Linked DNA regions of Homo sapiens: regions 2, 3 and 4 are each linked to region 1. Evidence: promoter capture Hi-C in 16 types of primary human blood cells and fetal thymus (Javierre and others, 2016). All regions are on one chromosome and are shown on one strand. The core of a region is centred on a gene start or on the middle of the fragment in contact, and the rest is flanking DNA. Distances in the headings are between cores, read along the strand shown. Region 1 holds the start of COCH-AS1 (COCH antisense RNA 1). Region 2 overlaps SCFD1 (sec1 family domain containing 1). Region 3 overlaps SCFD1 (sec1 family domain containing 1). Region 4 has its middle 120 kb from the start of SCFD1.

What was found. Contacts are between HindIII fragments. The CHiCAGO score rates a contact against its expected background, and 5 or more counts as called.
Region 2: a contact is called between a fragment that was not itself captured here and the fragment with the promoter of COCH-AS1 in region 1, in 2 of 17 cell types (megakaryocytes and M1 macrophages). The highest score is 6.7, in megakaryocytes.
Region 3: a fragment that was not itself captured here is called in contact with the fragment with the promoter of COCH-AS1 in region 1 in 1 of 17 cell types (M1 macrophages); the score reaches 8.1 in M1 macrophages.
Region 4: a fragment that was not itself captured here is called in contact with the fragment with the promoter of COCH-AS1 in region 1 in 2 of 17 cell types (M1 macrophages and M2 macrophages); the score reaches 5.6 in M1 macrophages.

Annotation. Positions count from the first base shown.
Region 1 is chr14:30,887,165-30,891,905 of GRCh38, reverse strand. It overlaps COCH-AS1 (COCH antisense RNA 1), which reads left to right and starts at 2,098. Exons shown (of 5, transcript NR_038356.1): 1 at 2,098-2,522; 2 at 2,651-2,763. COCH (cochlin) reads right to left here. Exons shown (of 12, transcript NM_004086.3): 12 at 1,288-2,290. The coding sequence ends at 2,115. The HindIII fragment of the contact is 10,353 bases long and covers 1-4,741 here.
Region 2 is chr14:30,675,302-30,680,042 of GRCh38, reverse strand. All of the region lies in intron 14 of SCFD1 (sec1 family domain containing 1), which reads right to left. Among named protein-coding and RNA genes, the nearest start is that of SCFD1, 55 kb to the right of the region's middle. RefSeq lists an enhancer at 4,607-4,741. The HindIII fragment of the contact is 2,722 bases long and covers 981-3,702 here.
Region 3 is chr14:30,693,186-30,697,926 of GRCh38, reverse strand. It overlaps SCFD1 (sec1 family domain containing 1), which reads right to left. Exons shown (of 25, transcript NM_016106.4): 15 at 3,058-3,154. Among named protein-coding and RNA genes, the nearest start is that of SCFD1, 73 kb to the right of the region's middle. The HindIII fragment of the contact is 319 bases long and covers 2,476-2,794 here.
Region 4 is chr14:30,738,876-30,743,616 of GRCh38, reverse strand. No RefSeq gene overlaps it. Among named protein-coding and RNA genes, the nearest start is that of SCFD1, 120 kb to the right of the region's middle. The HindIII fragment of the contact is 1,102 bases long and covers 1,498-2,599 here.

The DNA.
Region 1 (4,741 bases), core at 849-3,348:
TATTTCCTTTTTACTCTGTCTCCTGTAAATAACCTTTATCCTGATTATGTTTACTTACATAATTATTGATAGTAACCTACAGTTCTGATTTCTGCTGTCTTGCTGCTATTCCCTGGTTACTTCAGGTGACTCAAAACTTGGTCCTTTATAAAATTAAAGAAAAAACCACTTTCTTAAAAGGGCTAATGAGTGGTAGCTGGGTTTTCATTAGAGCTTAATTTTCCAAGGGGTTGTACTCCTAGCTGAGAGTTTTTGGTCTACTTACTGGGGAAAAATCATACTATGCTAAACCCAGTTTTTATGATGTTTAATTAAAATTATCCCTGTTACATGATTCAGTCATGTTTGAAGCATTTTATAAAAGGGGAGGTTGTCTTCTCAAACTCTATTTTCAAATTCAAATTTTTATGTAGTGAAAAAGTCAATTCCAGTTTGTTTCTCCCTGCATGTAGTCCTTTTATTCCTCTTATGCAGGGTATAAAATTGTAAGACTCAGAAGATTTACTGGAGTATATTATTCTAACCAGTTAACACATTTCAGGGGGCTTAGGTGGATGAGAGGAGGAGATAGGACCTATCTTTAGAAAAGACAGACAAGGTGGGATGATAGAGCACCTCTGTCTTTTGGGAGAGGCCTTGGTAAGCGAATCATCTAAGTCACATTAAGGGAGTCCTGATGTTCTCCTTTCATAGGAACCAACTTCACAAGCATTTTTAAGTAAAAAATGATGTCAATTACAAAACATTTCTGGTGAAGCAAGTACTCAAAAATATCTTATACTGTTTAATCAGGTAGTGGCTGTGTATAATGCCTAGGACAGTAGGTATTCGATAAACTTGTGTCTTTTTATTTTTTTTTTTATTTTGGAGATAGGGTCTTGCTCTGTCACCCAAGCTGGAGTGCAGTGGTGTGATCATGGCTCACTGTAGCCTTGACCTCCTCGGCTCAAGCAGTCCTCCCACCTCAGCCTCCCAAGTAGCTCAGACTACAGACATGCACCATCCCACCCGGCTAATTTTTTTTTCTTTTTTGTAGAGGGGGTTCTCACTATGTTGCCCAGGCTGGTCTTGAATTCTTGGCCTCAAGCAGTCCTCCTGCTTCAGCCTCCCAAAGTGCTGGGATTACAGGCATGAGCCACTGTGCTTGGCCTCAATAAATAATTGAATCAAAGAAAAAATATTCTTGGTATTATTACATGATTTAAAAAACAATTCAGATTGGTCTTTCCACATGAATTTTTACCATATCCTCAGGGGAGACACTAGCAGTAATAAAAGTAAGCCAGCTTACAATAACTCACTAGCAGTTTTATTGCTTAAATATTCAAACTACAATATTTTTTCTGCAGTTATTTGAAATGTCTTTGTCTTTAAATGTTTATAAGCAGTCAGTAAATACTTTACCAACTTAACTTTTAAGTACTTAGGTGACTTAGAATATAAGCCAAATATATCTATATACATATAAAATTAAGGAGAGAAATAGAAAAATACCTGGCAATCCTGCTCTCTTATTCAGTGTGATATTTTTAGTCATAAGTTGTTATGAAAACACACTACAAAAGCAGTTTGATACAGGTCTCCTTTCTATATCCAGATTTTATAGTCTGCAGTAATAGCTAGCTATTATTGATTGGTTTTAAGAAAATATCCACTTGGGTCAAAATATGTGTACCTGAACCATGTTAAAGAGCTGTGTTCATTTAAGTTTCTCTTTTCATTTTGCTTATATAATCAATACAGAATGGTTAGAGAACGAATGTTGCTTTTGGTCTAAGTATCAGATTCTTTTATTGAGCTATGGAATTTGCATATCTGTACATTTAGTAGGCATGGTTAGAACTCTTAAGGTTTTAATCCACATTATCTCCTCTTTCCTGAGTTTCTAAGAGCCATGATTATGAAGCCTCAGCAGTGTTTTTAACAAAGTACACTGTAAATTGTAACCAGAAGGCAGCGGCTTTAAAGGAGTGCTTATTTGCCTAAATGGCTGTTGACATACTTAATAGTTTTGTATCTGATTCTAGTATGCTAAAGCATTTCAGTATTATGAGAATACAATTTACACACTGGATCCCCTTGTACTTTTTCTTTCAGTTGTCAAAATGTTACCATTATTGCTGGGATTCTAAGAAATCTCTACAAATGCCTCTGATGACATCAGAAACAATTGGTTCTAATCCTGTGAACTCTCTTGTGAAGAAAGCATGAGACTCCTTCGGTTTAGAAGCCATATCTTTCAGGTCATCCAGAGGTGCCCAAGCCACACCAACAGAGAAGATAGTGATTCCTACAATGAAAACATTTTAAAGTGAATTGAAAATCAGGTCTAGCTAATATATGGAATTATGTCTATATGTTTTCCATACACTGTTACATAGTTGCAGCGAAAACTGCTTACTAATTTCTGGACAATTAAATCCCCTGAACAAATTAAGTTTTCACAGTCATTGTGACGAGAGTGGCAAAAGAGTGGTCCAAACCAGAAACTCTGCTATATCTGTAATTCGCCACATTAACAGGTAAGTCATCACTGATAAGAAATAATTTGATAAAGTTCAATATCCATTAATGACAGAACACACCTATAAACTAGGAATAGAAGAAGACTTTTAACCTGATCCACAGTATCTTTTTTAAAATCCTACAGTAAATGCGGATGGTGAAAATTTTCCGTATGAGGTTGGCCTGCATCAAACAGTATACTGGAGTCAGAGTCACAATCCATTAAAGCAAGGAAGAATGGCACAAGAGATGGGATAAGTAAATAGCAAAAGTGTTCAAAGGTTGCATTGTTTGAGGAATGGTGACTAGTCCTCTGATAATGAAAAATCCTCTTCCATTTCAATCTTTATATTGGCAAACTGTCTAATAATCAGAAAATGTCAGCCTATAATCCCAAAGCAAAACTAGTGACTAAAAAGTACTGCCCAAGAGGGATCTTATGAAACTGGAGTAATTTCTTCCAGTTTCATTGAGGTATTCTATTTCCATTCACTTTAGTTACTAGAAGGCTTTTAGTACAACTGTACATTTAGGGTAATAATACATTAGTTGGATTCACCCCAATCCCAATTGTAGAAGTTTTCATTTAATCTTTTTTTTTTTTTTTTCTCAGACAGGGTCTGGCTCTTTTGCCCATGCTGGAGTGCAGTGGTACAATCAAGGCTCACTGCAGCCTCAACTTCCTGGGCTCAAACTATCCTCCTCAGCACCCCCATCCTCAAATAGCTGGGACTACAAGCGCATGCCACTAAGCCCAGCTAATTTTTAAATTTCTTTGTAGAGATGGGGTTTCACCATGTTGTTCAGGCTGGTCTCATCTCGAACTCCAGGGCTCAAGCGATCCATCTGCCTCGGCCTCCCAAAGTGCTGGGATTACAGGCATAAGCCACCACACCTGGCCTCATTTAGCAGATTCTTAGTGTAGAGTACCATCTATCTAATGCTGGGTGCAATTTTCTATAACTTTTGGAGTTTCTGTAATAGTTTTCCTCTACAGATCTAAGGTTTCATTCCCCTTCTAGTGGTATACAGTGCTCAGAGTGGTAAATACCTAAGATATGCAGCAGGTTTAGATGATGTAAAAGCTACTTGGAACAATGTCCAATTGTTCCAGTCTCCTTTTCCTGACTCTCACTCCCTGGTTAAAAAAAAAAAAAGTCAAAATATTTTTTTCCTCCCCCTCAGTTTTCCTCACTTCTTTTCAGTTCTACATTCTAGTTCAGATTGTTTAGCTCAAGCCCAGCATATAATTACAGTTAAAAAAAAAAATAATCACACCACTGTACTCCAGCCTGGGTGACAGAGCAAGACCCTGAAAATAAATAAAAACTGTTGTGATCTACCCCTAAAATCCTACCCTATTTTCTGGCTTTTGCAACTTTCAATATCACTAAGGGATAATTTTCACGAATCAATATTGGTGTAGTCCAGCCTCCTGAACTTTAATCAACCTAATCACTTTATAGCCTGAATACAATCCTGTTAACTATAAGTTCAGTAAGCTAAGTATTAAGGAATATGATAGTAAACAGGTCTTTACTTCACAGGCTAGTTGCTGATGTATAAAAAATACTTTTTACAAGCTAGATGTGGAACTTAAATTGCATGTGTTCTCTGTTTTAAGAATAATCTTTCATCAGTATCTGTAAAAATATGTGAGTACATTGGCAGAGGTACTAATGTGTAGAAAGGAAAAAGGTTATGTCATTAGGAATTAAGTAGGGAAAATGAGGTACAGAAGAGTGTTAAAAAAAACAAGTCCATTGATTCTTCCCTCCTGTCACTCAGTTATATCCTCAGAAAGGGAATCTTAGCTTTTTGTTGGCCTATTTGATCTCTAACACATTACGTTAATGTCTTCAGGAACGAGGCCTGTGCCAAAAGTAATATTAAGGCTGGGGTGAGGAAGAAAGAAACCCTTCTTATACCCTTTTATAACACCAGAGTGTGTTTTTATTATCTTAAGCGGGGGGGAAAAAGTTTTTTTTTTTTTTTTTTTTTCTTTTTGAGACAGAGTCTCACTCTGTCGCCCAGGCTGGAGTACAATGGCACGATCTCAGTTCATTGCAACCTCTGCCTCCTGGGTTCAAGTGATTCTCGTGCCTCAGCCTCCTGAGTAGCTGGGATTACAGGTGTATGTTACCACACCCAGCTAATTTTTGTATTTTTAATAGAGACTGGGTTTTACCATGTTGGCCCGGCTGGTCTTGAACTCCTGACCTCAGGTGATCCCGCC
Region 2 (4,741 bases), core at 1,092-3,591, 210 kb after region 1:
CTGAAGAGCTATCTTTTGTCATACTTGCAATAAAAAACAAAACAAAGCAAAACAAAATACTTCAGATTCTCATAGTAACTAATCTTGAGATGAGAAGAGATAAAAGACAAGTGATAGCTCATCCACTGTGAACTTTCTGATACAGAATATATTTTTCCTCTGTCTTAAAGAAAAGACACCAAGGTAATAAGAACTTTCACTTGATATGCATACTGGACAAGAGATCATTTTAAACAAATCAGCACAAAATCCAGCCAAAGAAATGTTCTGACTTCTAGTTCAGTAAAAGACCTCTAATGTGATCAGGAGCAATAGTGATCAGTTAATCAAAGTCAGTTAATGTTAAAAAAAAAAAAAAAGTCAGTTTATGTGAAGAATAAAACAGGATCTATGTTGTATGTTTAACTTAAGACCTAAAATACGCAGTCTGTCAATCACTGATCTATGTCCAAGACTTCTTCTTTGAGTACAGAGATTCAGTGACTGACATTTTTTTTCTTTCTTGCATAAAGCACACCTATCAGAAATCACCTATGATTTCCAGGTTCAGTTCTTTGGGAGTGGAATAAAAAATTTTAGAGACATTGCAAAGCAATTTCCGTAAAATACAGTATTTTCTGAGGCTTTCCAATCTTTTATGGTTAAGGTTTTTTACCCACACCTAATTCAAACAATATTTATTTAAACCATCATGTTCACTGAGTCTTTCTAAGATGTGCAACTTAGTTTTATAGAAACAATCTTTTCATACTCATACAATTGACATAAATGCAATAAAACACAAATAACTCATTAGTAAGCAAAAAAAAAAAAATCCAATCATGAGAGCAGAAAAAGGCACAAGATGATAATAAGGAAATTGTTATGACATGTTAATAATGTGGCTACTGGCCACTGTGGTTTACAGAGGGCATCAGTTAATTTGGTGTGGTGACTAAGTGGAGATCAGTTAAGAGAGTTTCCACTTTATTTTGAAAGCTTATCTTCCCCATAAAAATATAAGGCAGTTGAACCAAAAAATAAAAATAAAAAGTCAGTCCTCAGAAGGAACACTAGTGAAAAGCTAGCATTGCCAACAAGGGTTAAGCCTTCTTTAGAGTACAGACATCATCACCTAATCAGATGATGTCTTTAGATCTAATTCAGTCCCTATAAGACTGTCTATAAGAACAAGTAAAACAAAAATGAGGATCCAGTAACAATTAAGCCTTGCCTCACAAAGTTTATTGATAGCTTATTTTTTACCAGCTATATCCGGTTGGTTGGAGCATTCAGATGTGGGTGCTTTTCCTCTAAGGTGGGAACACTGGGGGAAAGAACCCATGATACCATTTCTCTCTCTCATCTCATCAACTATGCTTTACAAGTAGGCTTCTTTTCTTTAGGTATCTGGAGCTAAAGAGTACTTTATTCAGGTTTGCTACATAGGTGAGCTAAGAATAATTAAAACAGGCTGTCTACAAATTATGTAAGTAATCCCAGAAGCCATTCTCTAACAACCAGCAAGTGGGAAAGTTGCATTTGTATTAGGGATGAAAAAACAACTAAAGAAAGGGTTTAAAAATATAGATGACTCAAAACAAATGAGTATTCAACAATTTACTCTTTATTAGACCCAAATTACCCAAATCACTAAAATCCTCAGAATATCAATAAAGTGAAAATGTTTCTTAAAGTTATGACAAACTGGTGTGCTCTAATTTTCCACCAAAACATCAATTGCGGGGTAACTGCCAGGATTTCTAAAAAGGTTAATTTCTTCTTTAGAAAACGACTGAAGGAAATGTAAGAAGCGGTTATACTCTAAACAAAAGAAGAAATATGTAAAACTAATACAGTCAAATACTAAGAGAAATGCTGAGACCTCTACATGACACAATCTTCTAGCTAGTAAAAAATATTTACGGCCAGGCGCGGTGGCTCACGCCTGTAATCCCAGCACTTCGCGGGGCCGAGGCGGGTGGATCATGAGGTCAAGAGATGGTGACCATCCTGCCCAACATGGTGAAATCCTGTCTCTACTAAAAATACATAAATTAGCTGGGCATGGTGGTCCGTGCCTGTAGTCTCAGCTACTCAGGAGGCTGAGGCAGAAGAATCGCTTGAACCCAGGAGGTGGAGGTTGCAGTGAGCTGAGAGTGTGCCACTGCACTCCGGCCTGGTGACAGAGTGAGACTCTGTCTCAAAAAAAAAAAAAAAAAAAAAAAAAAAAAAAGGTGCTTAGGTGAATGTATGTTCACAAGTAAGTAAAGCTCAGATGGTCAAGAAATTCTGGTGAAAAGAGAAGAGATTACGGAGCAAAATATTTCTTTAATTAACATTAACACAGCCAGCAGTAGGTGGCTTAACATAGTAATGGTATAAATAAACATGCCGCTTATAAGGATGGAAATTTAAGAGTTATGAAAAGTTATAAGAAATTCTGTAACTAGGAATAATGAGAAATAATGAGAACAATACAGTTTATCTGCTACTTTTGACAAGGAAGAACTTAAAATATTTAAAATAAATATGCTTCTTTATCTAGGATATAAAAAAAACTTCTGATTTTTAATTGGGCTTCTTAGAATGACCCAACTAGGAGTAGTGTGTTCTACAGATGACATTATTTTCCCTCTGTAAAGTGAATGTCCTCAATAGCACACTTTGTTTAAATCAGATCTTATGATGAAAAAGGATCATTAGCAAGATAATGATTCAATAATATCTATTTTTTTGACTGGGTGTGGTGGAATGCACCAATAGTCTTAGTTACTAGGGAGGCAAGGCAGGAGGATCCTTGAGCCCAGGAGGTTAAGGCTATATTGAGCTATGATTGTGCCACTGTACTCCAGCCTGGGTGACAGGGAGAGACCCTGTCAAAATAAATAAATAAGTGAATAAATAAAATCTATCTTTTACATAAAATCACTCAATATCTTGAATGACAGATTAGTTTCTTGGCATAAGATGCTCTGCCAGAGAACTAGCAACCCTAAAGGGAACACTTTCTTTTATAAGACCAAGAGGTCTTCAAGTAGAATTGTTTAGGTTGGGCATGGTAGCATATTAAACTATCTCAGACAGATGGCCTCTGTTAGCAAAAACTGATCTGAAAAACTCACCTAAAATCATTAGTGTAAAATTATAATAAGCACGATAAAAATTTCGTAAGTAAATTATGTCTTATAAATCATTTTTCACCTACACATCTATAATAGTTGTCTTCCAGTTCCACTTTTATTTCCAGAACTCATTGTCCCTTATCCTCCACAGTCTTCTTTATTTTAAAACATAAATCAGATCATGTCATTAACCTCTAATGAGTTATCATACTTAAATTTCTACTTTTTTTGATTCCATATTCTACCATCACTCTTTCCCTCCTCAATAAAGCACAATTTGTCTTTTTCTAGGTTCTCAAACATACCGAATTTGTTTGTCGTAGGGCCTTTGCACTTCTTATTCCCTCTGCCTGGCATGGTTGGCCCTGAGATCTTCACTAATTGGCTCCTTTCTGTGATTCCTGTCTCAACTCAAACATCACCTCATCAAAGGTGATTTCACTTGCAGACTTACTCCAGAGTAGGCCTCTCAGCCATTCTCATATCCCATTGCCTCACATCACCCTGCTGTTTTTGTTGTTCTCATGTCACTAAAATGCCTGAAGTTAACTTGTTTTCTAATTTGCTTACTCTGTTTACTGTCACTACAATATAAGCTTCAAGAGAACAGAGAACTTGTCTGTCTTGTTTACTACAGTATCTTCAGGGCCTAGTACAATATACATAGAGCCACTCAATAAACATGATTGAATAAGTAAATTAACCAAAATTTTCTCAAACTATAAGTTCTAGTCTCCGACCTGAAGGAAATTCTCAATATAGCTCTCTGTTGTATTTCACCTGGTGATATATCTATACATCTATATCTGTATCTGTATCACCTCCACAAGAGACAATGACCTCAGGTAAACAGATCTGAACAGCCTTTTGCCATTTCACAGAGACACTACATATAGAAGTGAAAACATCAGCAGAATCACCTACAGACTGCAGTTCTGTTTCTATTCCTGTATGAACCTGAAAAATATCAAGTACCAAGATGTGAAACAAAGAAAAAAATTAGGTTGTTGGCGTAATAGTAATTATGCAGGTTTAAACTGCATGCTGCCCATTATCTATGTTAGTGCCTTTCTAATGCTTTTGTGGCTTTTAAAATTATTTAAATAATACCTTTAAGTACCTTCTCAATAAATCCCAGGTGTTATCAACTTCTCTGACAGCCAGCAATTATATTCAGCTTTTTAAACAGTTTCAAATGCATCATATAAAATGGAAAGGAGGGGTCAATATTAGCCAAGTTTTAGCATATGGTCAATCTGCCACAGAAATTCAGCTCCAAGTGTGGAGAACAAATAATAGCAGAATACTGAAGGACTGATTAAGTAAGCTGACAATGGGGCAATCATGAACACGGTAATGAGAAAAAGAACTATAACAATATATAGAACTCCCAACATACTTGTTTCAAAATCACAGTTCAATGATACACAGTAAGAAGCTTCAATGTTAACAGATTCTCTAAATTTAAAAAGTTCAGAACAAAGTCACATAAATAAAAGTGATGTTATTAATGGATATTTTAGATAGAACTCTGGTAAAAGAGATTTCCAAATCTATTACTGATGCTGAGATACAAGTCTACTATTAATACAGTAGTATGTACAGCAGTGATATTGAGGCAGTGCAATATAATAGAA
Region 3 (4,741 bases), core at 1,386-3,885, 190 kb after region 1:
TATGTCTACAGTATATTTAATGGAAAAAGGATCAATTTCAGAATCATGTGCCACATACAGTTGTCATGCCTCTTTAGTCTTCTTCTGTATGAAACAGTTCCTCCATTTTTCCTTGACTTGCATGGCCTTGGTTACTTTTTAAGACTATAGGCTGGTTTCTTCCTAGAATATCACACAATTAAGTTTTGTCTAATATTTCCTCATGATTAGATTTAGGTTATACCGAGGCAAGAATATCACAACAGTGATGCTGTGTTCTTTGCACTGAATCCTACTAGCCCTTTACCTCTCAGCCTTTCCTGAGCTCCTTCCTCTCCACAATCTGCTTAGTACTTTCCCACTATTTTATGTCTCTCTACTGACGACGTTCACTGTGGTTACCTAATAAGGTATTTATCAGGCTTCTCCACCGCACCGTTACTTTTTCTTACAGTTAATAAGTATTTTGTGGGGAGGTATTCTGAAACTGCATAAATATCCTATGAAATTTCAATTTATTCATTTATTATGTCCACATGGACTCTTGGCATCCTCTTTTATCAGTGGGTTATAATCTGTTATTATTTATTTTGATGCTCAAATTGTCATCATCTGGAGCCTATTCAAGCTGACTTCTGGGTTCTTTTGACAAGTTCCATCATTTTTGGAGTAGCTTCCTTGCCTTCTGACACAACAAAAATGTTCCAGACTCATTTTGTACTTTTGCTCCCTGCCCCACCTCTGGAATCAGCTACCTCTCCAAGGAGTCCTAGTGGAAACTGTATTTATAAGGCAGCATCTTTACTAGTTGGGCATTGCTGCTCCCAGGCCCTTTCAGTTGGCAGAGTTACGGAATACATGAGTATACACCGCCCCCCCCAACATACAATCTATATTTATTTCTGTATCTGAACAGATATATAGCGAAAACACTAAGTTCACACCAACACCTCTAATTCCAATCCAACACTACAGGGTTCATTCTAATTTTTTCCCTTTCTATATTTATAAATTCCTCCTCTGACAATGGGAAATTGGGCTTTCTTTATATTATCCAATATATTTATTTAGCCAGTCCCCTGTATATAACAAATATCCCATCTCTGCTTCCATGGGCTTGCTGCATGGATGCCCTTCTTACTTCACTTGAGCTCTGATTTCCTGCAGTGGACCCATCCACATACCTAGACATACGTCTCACCTCACCTAGGCCCAAGCTGGTTTGTTCCTGTGCAGGGGTCACCCTCCTCAATCTGTTATGGTTCTCACACACCTTGCTAGACTACTCCCACATGTGGACACTCTGCTTTCCTTTCCTGAACTTTGACATGCCAGATTACTAATCCTCCCTCTATTCCATGAGTGGATGCCCTTAGTCATCTTGCTCAGGTTCCAACATCTTATTCTGGACCGAAGTGGCACCAGACTGCTACTTTGCAAGAATGCCTACCTTGCTCTATCCTACTTAAATATCTTTAGGGATAAATCGTTTGAGAAAGGGGAAAGGAAAAAGCAGGACTGATTGCCTTTCTGTCAACATGTTTTTTTTGTTTCAACTTTACTCGAAAGTTACTGTAAATAACAAGGAATAGCTCAGAAATGATAGACTTATATAACTTTTTAAATTTCTTTCACTGTAAAATGCATATACCTTTAAAATGCTATGTTCTCACCACAAATCTAGCTTTCTAAAAGTGTGAGCAATACTTATGGCTTCTCAGATGTTTGTATAAATAGAATCTTTAATTATAAAACAGTTTGGACTTTTAAATTATTTTCTAATTTGGATTATAGTCTAAAATTCATACCAAAACTATAACTCAAAAACCATAATTATGCAGCTTAAATAGCTTATATGCAAAATGGGTCCTAGGCTTTCCATTTGTTTTGGAAAAAGCTGAGATTTGAATTCAAAACTATTGTGAAATGATCTACAGGTCTCTAAAGTTTAGGGAATTTCAGAGACTAAGACTCTATGTAGATCCCACAATCTTTATAATTAAAAACTACAATTGGATTACATTAAATTTTTTTTTTACTATTTTTGCCTGTGGTTTTTTTTGTTTGTTTGTTTTTGAGACCAGGTCTTGCTCTGCCACCCAGGCTGGAGTGCAGTTGTGCGATCTTAGCTTACTGCAACATCGTACTCCTAGGCTCAACGGATCCTCCCACCTCAGTCTCCCAAGTAGCTGGGACTACAGATGCATGCCACCCTGCCTGGCTAACTTTCTTCATTTTTTGTGTGTATATGGGGTCTTGCTTTATTGCCTAGGCTGGTCTCAAACTCCTGGGCTTAAGCAATCCTCCTGCCTCAAGCTCCCAAAGTACTGGGATTACAGGTATGAACCACTGTGCCTGGCCAGTCTTTACCATTGTTAAGTGCACAGTTCAGTGGTAAAAAATACGTTTATATTTTTTTGTTCCCTTCATCCCTCCACCTCTCTCCCTTTCCTGGCCTCTGGTAACTCTATCATCATAAGATCTACTTTTTAAGCTTCCACATGAGTGAGAACATGTGATACTTGTCTTTCTGCGCCTGGCTTCTTTTGCTTAACATATTGGCCTCCATAGATCATATTTTCTAAGTACAAATAGTTATATTTTAAGAAAATCTAACATACAAATATTTAAAGTGATTGGCCATAGAGTTCCTTTAAAAGTAAACTCCCTAAACATGTAAAACAGAATTTAGTTTTAGATACATCTTTTCAGGAAATTGAGGGTAGACCAAAGTAATTAGGAAGCGAATCACTTAGAGACACTTGCTTTGAATGTTATACCTTCAAATCTTCCTGGAACCAGCAGATATTAAGCTTTACATATATCACCTTAAACAAGTGAATATAAAATGTGCCTAAATACTATCAAATAAAAGTTCAATGAAATGAAATGCAAATTATTTTTCCACTGTAGGAACTGCTAAGTTATAAAATTTTACCAGAAAATAGCTCATTTAATTATCTTGATATTAGCATTGACTGTCAGAAAAACAACAATTCTATTCAAAGTTTACTCAATTGAAAATGCTGCTTTCGTCAGATATGAAACTTACATTAACCTCAAATTTTTGGTACATACCATCAGGGTCTGATATTATATCTAGAAGAGATTTATCCAGAGTAGTTTTGCTCATTATTTTTTCTTCATATTCAAAATATACATCCAATTTTCTTGCCTGTTTCAAAATAAACATTAGATGAGAATATATTAAGTCATTAAAATACATAATGATCTACTCACCTTATAAGTTTCTATTTTCTATGATCAATTTTAAGATATGTTCTTTCAGACAGGTCAAAAGTACAGTTCAGAAGTACCAGGCTGAAGTACAGTGGTGCAATCTCAACTTCCCAGGCTCATTCCTAACCCAGTCTCCCGAGTAGCTGAGACCACAGGTATGTGTCACCACACCTGGCTAATTTTTCCGTATTTTTTTTTTATAGAGATGGGGTTTTGCTATGTTGTGCAGGCTGGTCTTAAACTCCTGAGCTCAAGCAATCTGCCCGTCTCAGCCTCCCAAAGTGCGGGATTACAGGTGTGAGCAACTGTGCCTGGCTTTCATTTCTTAAAAGAATTTAAAGTGTCTTACTTTTGAATATATATTTAATATAGAAAAAAACCAACAGATTATTTTGTTTACCATATTTGATGGATAAATTCAGCAGTAATTCTGCATAACGTACATATATTAGCAAAGATAAAAACACAATTGTTACTTATTGTATTAATTAGTTACTGGCATACAAATCATATTGTACTCCATGCAAAATTCATGTCAGGTGGTCAAGTTATGTTTACTATTTTAGTGTGCAAATCCACATATATTCACCTTAACTAGATGGAAAGTTACCTTAAACTAAATTATTGTCCTTTTTGTTTTTTTAAAAAAACTTTTTCCTTATTAGTTTTCCTATTTAATATCTTGAAGTTTAAGATAACGGAAACGTAGTAAAACTTTGCTGTGTGAGACCTTTCCTAATTGAAAATTTTGTTGATTAAAATTATCCAAATAAAGTTAACATATTAAGATCCTCAAAAGCAAATAAAAATTATCAAATAACTCTTAAGTTATGCTTCAGATAATTCAGATACTATTGAGGGTGTTAATAATCAAGTGGGAGTAGAAACCATTCATGAAATTATAAAAACAATTTTTATAATTAAGGGTGTAAACAATCAAAGTGGGAGTGGAAACCATTCATGAACTATATTAGGATTTATAGTAATACCAACGTAGAACCAATATACAAATATACAACATAAATACATTATGCTAAAAGGCAGAATGAAATAAATAGCCAATTGAGGAGGAAGTGATATATTTTGAGTTGAAGTTTGAAAGTGATTTAGGGACATAGATATAGTTCATTTCAGTTAAACAGATCATGCCAAGGCACAAGGTAGAAACATCTAAACAGTAGACTAAGGAGTGAATTTGATACATGGAGCAACAAGAAATCAGAGTCATTTCACTGCTACTCCCTTGCAGTGGCACGCAAGGCCAAAGTTTTATAGATGAAATATCCAGATAGTTCAAAAATGAATACAACATAAAAAGACATATACTGAGAAGCCTTATTTTTCACCCCGTCCTCTTCCACCCCATTTCTACCTGCTTCTATAGGTATTTTCTTTTATTATTTCTTCTAGTTTTTTTTAGAGTTTCTTTGTGCAAATATCAGCAGAGTCTGTATTCTAATATCCGCCTCCTTTCTGACACAAGAAGTATGATACTGTACTTTTCTGCCCTTTCCTTTCACTG
Region 4 (4,741 bases), core at 799-3,298, 150 kb after region 1:
GCTGGGCCTTTGCTGCCTACTCCTGCTTCTATCCCTTCTGCCATGCGTGTTAGTCCCGATCATCTTCCTCATGCCAATAACCTTCCCTAATAAATAGCCTTCCTGTATGCTAAATGTGGTCTGAGTCTGCCTTCTGGGGGCCTAACCTGTGACAACCACGTTCCACATTTCTGTTATTGATTTATTTTAAAACTTAAGTAAATTTAAAATTTATTGAGACCTTTTTAAAGGTTCAGAATATGGTATACTTTAGTAAATGTTCTGAAAGAACTTGAAAAGTGTGTGTATGCTGCTGTTTTAGGGGCGGAGTGTTATAAAGACATTATCGTGGATTATTTAGGTGGACCCAGTGTAACCATGTGGATCCTTTAAATGTAGAAGAGACAGGCAGAAAAATCGCTGTCAGAATGCTACCTGTGTGTATTAGTCCATTCTCGTGCCGCTAATAAAGATATACCCAAGACTAGGTAATTTATAAACGAAAGAAGTTTAATGGACTCACAGTTCCGCATGGCTGGGGAGGCCTCACAATCATGGTGGAAGGCAAAGGAAGAACAAAGGCATGTCTTACATGGTGGCAGGCAAGAGAGCTTGTGCAGGGGGACTCCTGTTTGTAAAACTATCAGATCTCATGAGGCTTATTCACTACCAAGGGAATAGCATGGGAAAAACCCACTCCCATGATTCAGTTACCTTCCACCGGGTAACTTCCATGACATGTGGGCATTATGGGAGCTACAATTCAAGATGAGATTTGGGTGGGGACACGACCAAACAAATATCATTGTGAGAAAGACTTGACTGGCCATCACTGGCTCACAACATGGAGAAGACAAGCATCAAACTGTTTCCAAGTAACTTAACTACATCCCAGACCAAAGCTTGAGAATAACTGTGGGAATACGAAAATAGCCAGCACCCAACAGGTACAATTTGCATTTAAAATCAATCTAATCAATACTTCCCAGGAATGCAAAATGCCACCCTTTCTGGATTTTGGCCCAGTGAGAACCATTTTGGGCTTCTTACCCCTAGAACTGTAAGGTAATATATTTGTGGTATTTTAAGCCACTACATTTGTGATAATTTGTTATAGCACCAATAGAAGACTAATACAGATATTGTAGGTTTTGTCTTTAGAAGTTTGATTTGGGTCTTTGTTGTATGTTTCATGCCTCTACTCAAAAAGGTCAGTCTTCCCCTAACTTCTTGAACATATGAAATAGCTATAATAAATACTTTACTATCCTCATCTACTAATTATAGCATCTGTGATGTTTTTGGTTAAGTTTAAATTGATTTTTTAATCCTCATTATGTTTTGTGTTTGCCTGTTGCTTTGCATTCCTGGTAAGTTTTGATTAGATTTTAAATGCAAATTTTACCTTGTTGGGTGCTGGATATTTTTGTATTGCTATAGTTATTCTTGAGATTTAGTCTGGGATATAGTTCAGTTACTTGGAAACAGTTTGATGCTTTTGGGCATTGCTTTCAAGCTTTGTTAGGCAGGACCAGAACAGTGCTTAGACTAAGGTTATTTTTTCCTCGCTACTAAGGCAAAATATTTGTGAGTTTTTAAATGCGATTCTCTGGGAATTATGCATTTTTATATTCTGGTTGGTTCCTGGTCCGTCTGAGGACTATTCCTTCTAATGCTTTTGGGTGGTTCTTCTCCCAGCCTCAGGTAGCTTCTTCACTTGCACATGTCGAGCTGTAACAGAGGAGAACCCTCTGCTGAGCTTGAGTTCTCTATGCAGCGCTCTCCTTTCTGGTACTCCATCTTGAAAACTATAGCCCTCTTGGTCACCTTGGACTCCCAGAACTGCCGCCTCAACTAGAGGAGACAAGGGGTCTCCACCTGGGTTCGCCCTTCTGGCACCGCTGTCCAGAACCTTTCTCCAGGCAATAAGCCGAGGCAATCTAAGGACGCTCGCATTTTTTTCCTGTCTCTCAGGGATCACAGTCCTTGTTGTTGATGTCCAATGTGTTAAGAACTTTTGCTGCGTGTATTCTGTCCAGTTTTAAAGTTGTTTCTGATGGGAGGTTAAACCTGGCAAATATGACTCCATCTTGGAAGAAAGTGGTGGTTTCATTTTTTAATATGAAGTAGTTTCATTTTACTTATATGATGTCTACAAGATGAGTAGTAATGTCCCTTTTTTCATTCCTAGTATTGGAGTTTTGTGTCTTTTCATTTTCTTTTTTTTTTTTTTTCTTCCATCTGTTTTGCCAGAAGTTTGTTCTTCTGTATATCAGCTTGGGCTGCCATGACAAGATACTGTAGACTCGGTTGCTAAAAGAACAGACATTTATTTTCTCACAGTTCAGAGGCTGGAAGTCTAAGATCAAGGTGCTCTCAGGGCTGGTTCCCAGTGAAGTCTCTTGGTGGCTTGTAGATATCCACCTTCTTGCTGGGTCCTCATGCAGCCTTTCTTCTGTGCACATGTGGAGAGAGGGAGAGGTGTCTGGTGTCTCTTTCTCCTCTTAGAAGGACACCAGTCCTATTGGATTAGCGCCTCATCTTTATGACCTCACTTAACCTTAATTACCACCTAAAGCCCTATCTGTAAGTAAATGTAGTCACATTGGAGATTAAAGCTTCAGCATGTGAATATGCCAGGGGGTGGGGGTGGTAACACAATTTAGTCCTTAACATTCTCTATCACGTTGGATTCTGACTCATTAATTTCTGCTTTGTTATTTCATTTTACTACCTTTTTCTTGTTGATTTTATTATTTTTCTAACTTCTTGTGATGGATGCTTAGTTTATCAATTTTAACCTTAATTTTTATAATTTGTTTTTGAACTCTAAATGGGCCTTAAAATTCTGTAGTTGTATCAACACGTTTTAATATGTAGTATTTTTGTGGTTGTTCAACTTATTCATTTTAAAATATTTCCTAATTTATAACTTATTGGGTTAATTAGAACTGTGTCTCAACTAAGCCCAGTGTGGGCTTTTGAATTGAAAGTCTGTTATTGATTTCTAACTTACATTGTGATTCAGATATGCTCAAAATGATTTCAGCCATTTGGCTTGCTTCATGGTAAGATCAGATTTTAAAAATATTCCATACCTGCTTCAGAAGATTATATGTTCTGTAATTGTTGAGTACAGGTTCACTGTAGTCAATTAGCAACGTTTGTTAATTGTACTTTCAAATATTTTACATCTTTATTTTTTCCTGTTTGTGAATGCCATGTAAGAATCTCCCAGTATAATTATAAAGTTATTGATGTAAAATACACATAAAATGTATTTTAAAGTTTACAATTCAGTGTATTACATATATTCACAATGTGTAACCATCACCACTATCTAATTCCAAAACTTTTTCATCACCCCAAATGAAACATCGTACCCATTAAGCAGTCACTCCCCACCCTCTATTCCCCTAACCCCTGCAACCACAAATCTGCTTCCTGTCTTTATGCATTTGCCTGTTCTGGACATTTCATATAAAGGGAGTAATACAATATGTAGCTTTTATGTCTAGTTTCTTTCACTCCGCGTAATGCTTTCAAGATTCAACTATGTTGTAGCGTGTATCAGTACTTCACTCTCTTTTATGGCTGAAAAATATTCCATTGAATGAATATATCACATTTATTTATTCAATGATGGATATTTGGGTTGTTTCCACCTTTTGGCTATTGTGCATAATACGTTGGTGTACAAGATTTGTTCAGTCATTTTCAGTTCTTTTGAGAAGATATCTAGCAATAGAATTGCTGGGTTATACAGTGTGATACTGTGATTTGTAATAACACATATAGATTTGGTCTTTGTTCCCAATTCCTGGCACACAGGTGCAGAAACCCTTGTAATAGCCAAAGTAATGTCTTTTTGTAAGGTTATGAGATGCCTGATAGCTGGGGGCTCCTTGATAGCCACAGGACGGAGGCTGGTTGCTAGGGGAACTCACCATGTGATTAGAGGGTTGGAACTTTCAGTCCTATCCTTTGATCTCCAAGGATAGAAGAGAACACATGGACACAGGAAGGGGAACATCACACTCTGGGGACTGTTGTGGGGTGGGGGGAGGGGGGAGGGATAGCATTGGGAGATATACCTAATGCTAGATGACGAGTTAGTGGGTGCAGCGCACCAGCGTGGCACATGTATACATATGTAACTAACCTGCACAATGTGCACATGTACCCTAAAACTTAAAGTATAATAATAATAAATAAATAAATAAATAAAAAGAAGAGGGACTGAAAGTTGAGTTGATGAGCAATGGCCAGTGATTTAATCAGTCCTGCCTGTTAATGAAGTCTCCATTAAAAACCCACAAGTACAGAGTTTCAAGAGCTTCTGGGTTGCTGAACATGGGGAGGTAGCTGGAAGGGTGGTGCCCCACACAGGACACGGAAGCTCCACACCCCTTCCCGTATACCTCCCATAGCCCGGGAGGTTAAGGCTGCAGTGAGCTGTAATCATGCCACTGTACTCCAGGCTGGGCGACAGAGCAAGCCCCTGTCTCATACATACATACATACATACATACATACATACATACATACATATGTACATATATACAAACACATAAAGTTAATGAGTACTTAACAGATGGCAAAATGGGTTTATCTGTTTTAAAAAATTATTAGATATCATCTCAAGTGTTATCACTGCCACATTTTATCCAATCAAGGACCTTATGACACTGTCTGGCCAAACCTGTGGTTGGTTACCCCAAAAGTAGTGGCAGTTAAATTGTTGCAAGTGACTACCCCCAAC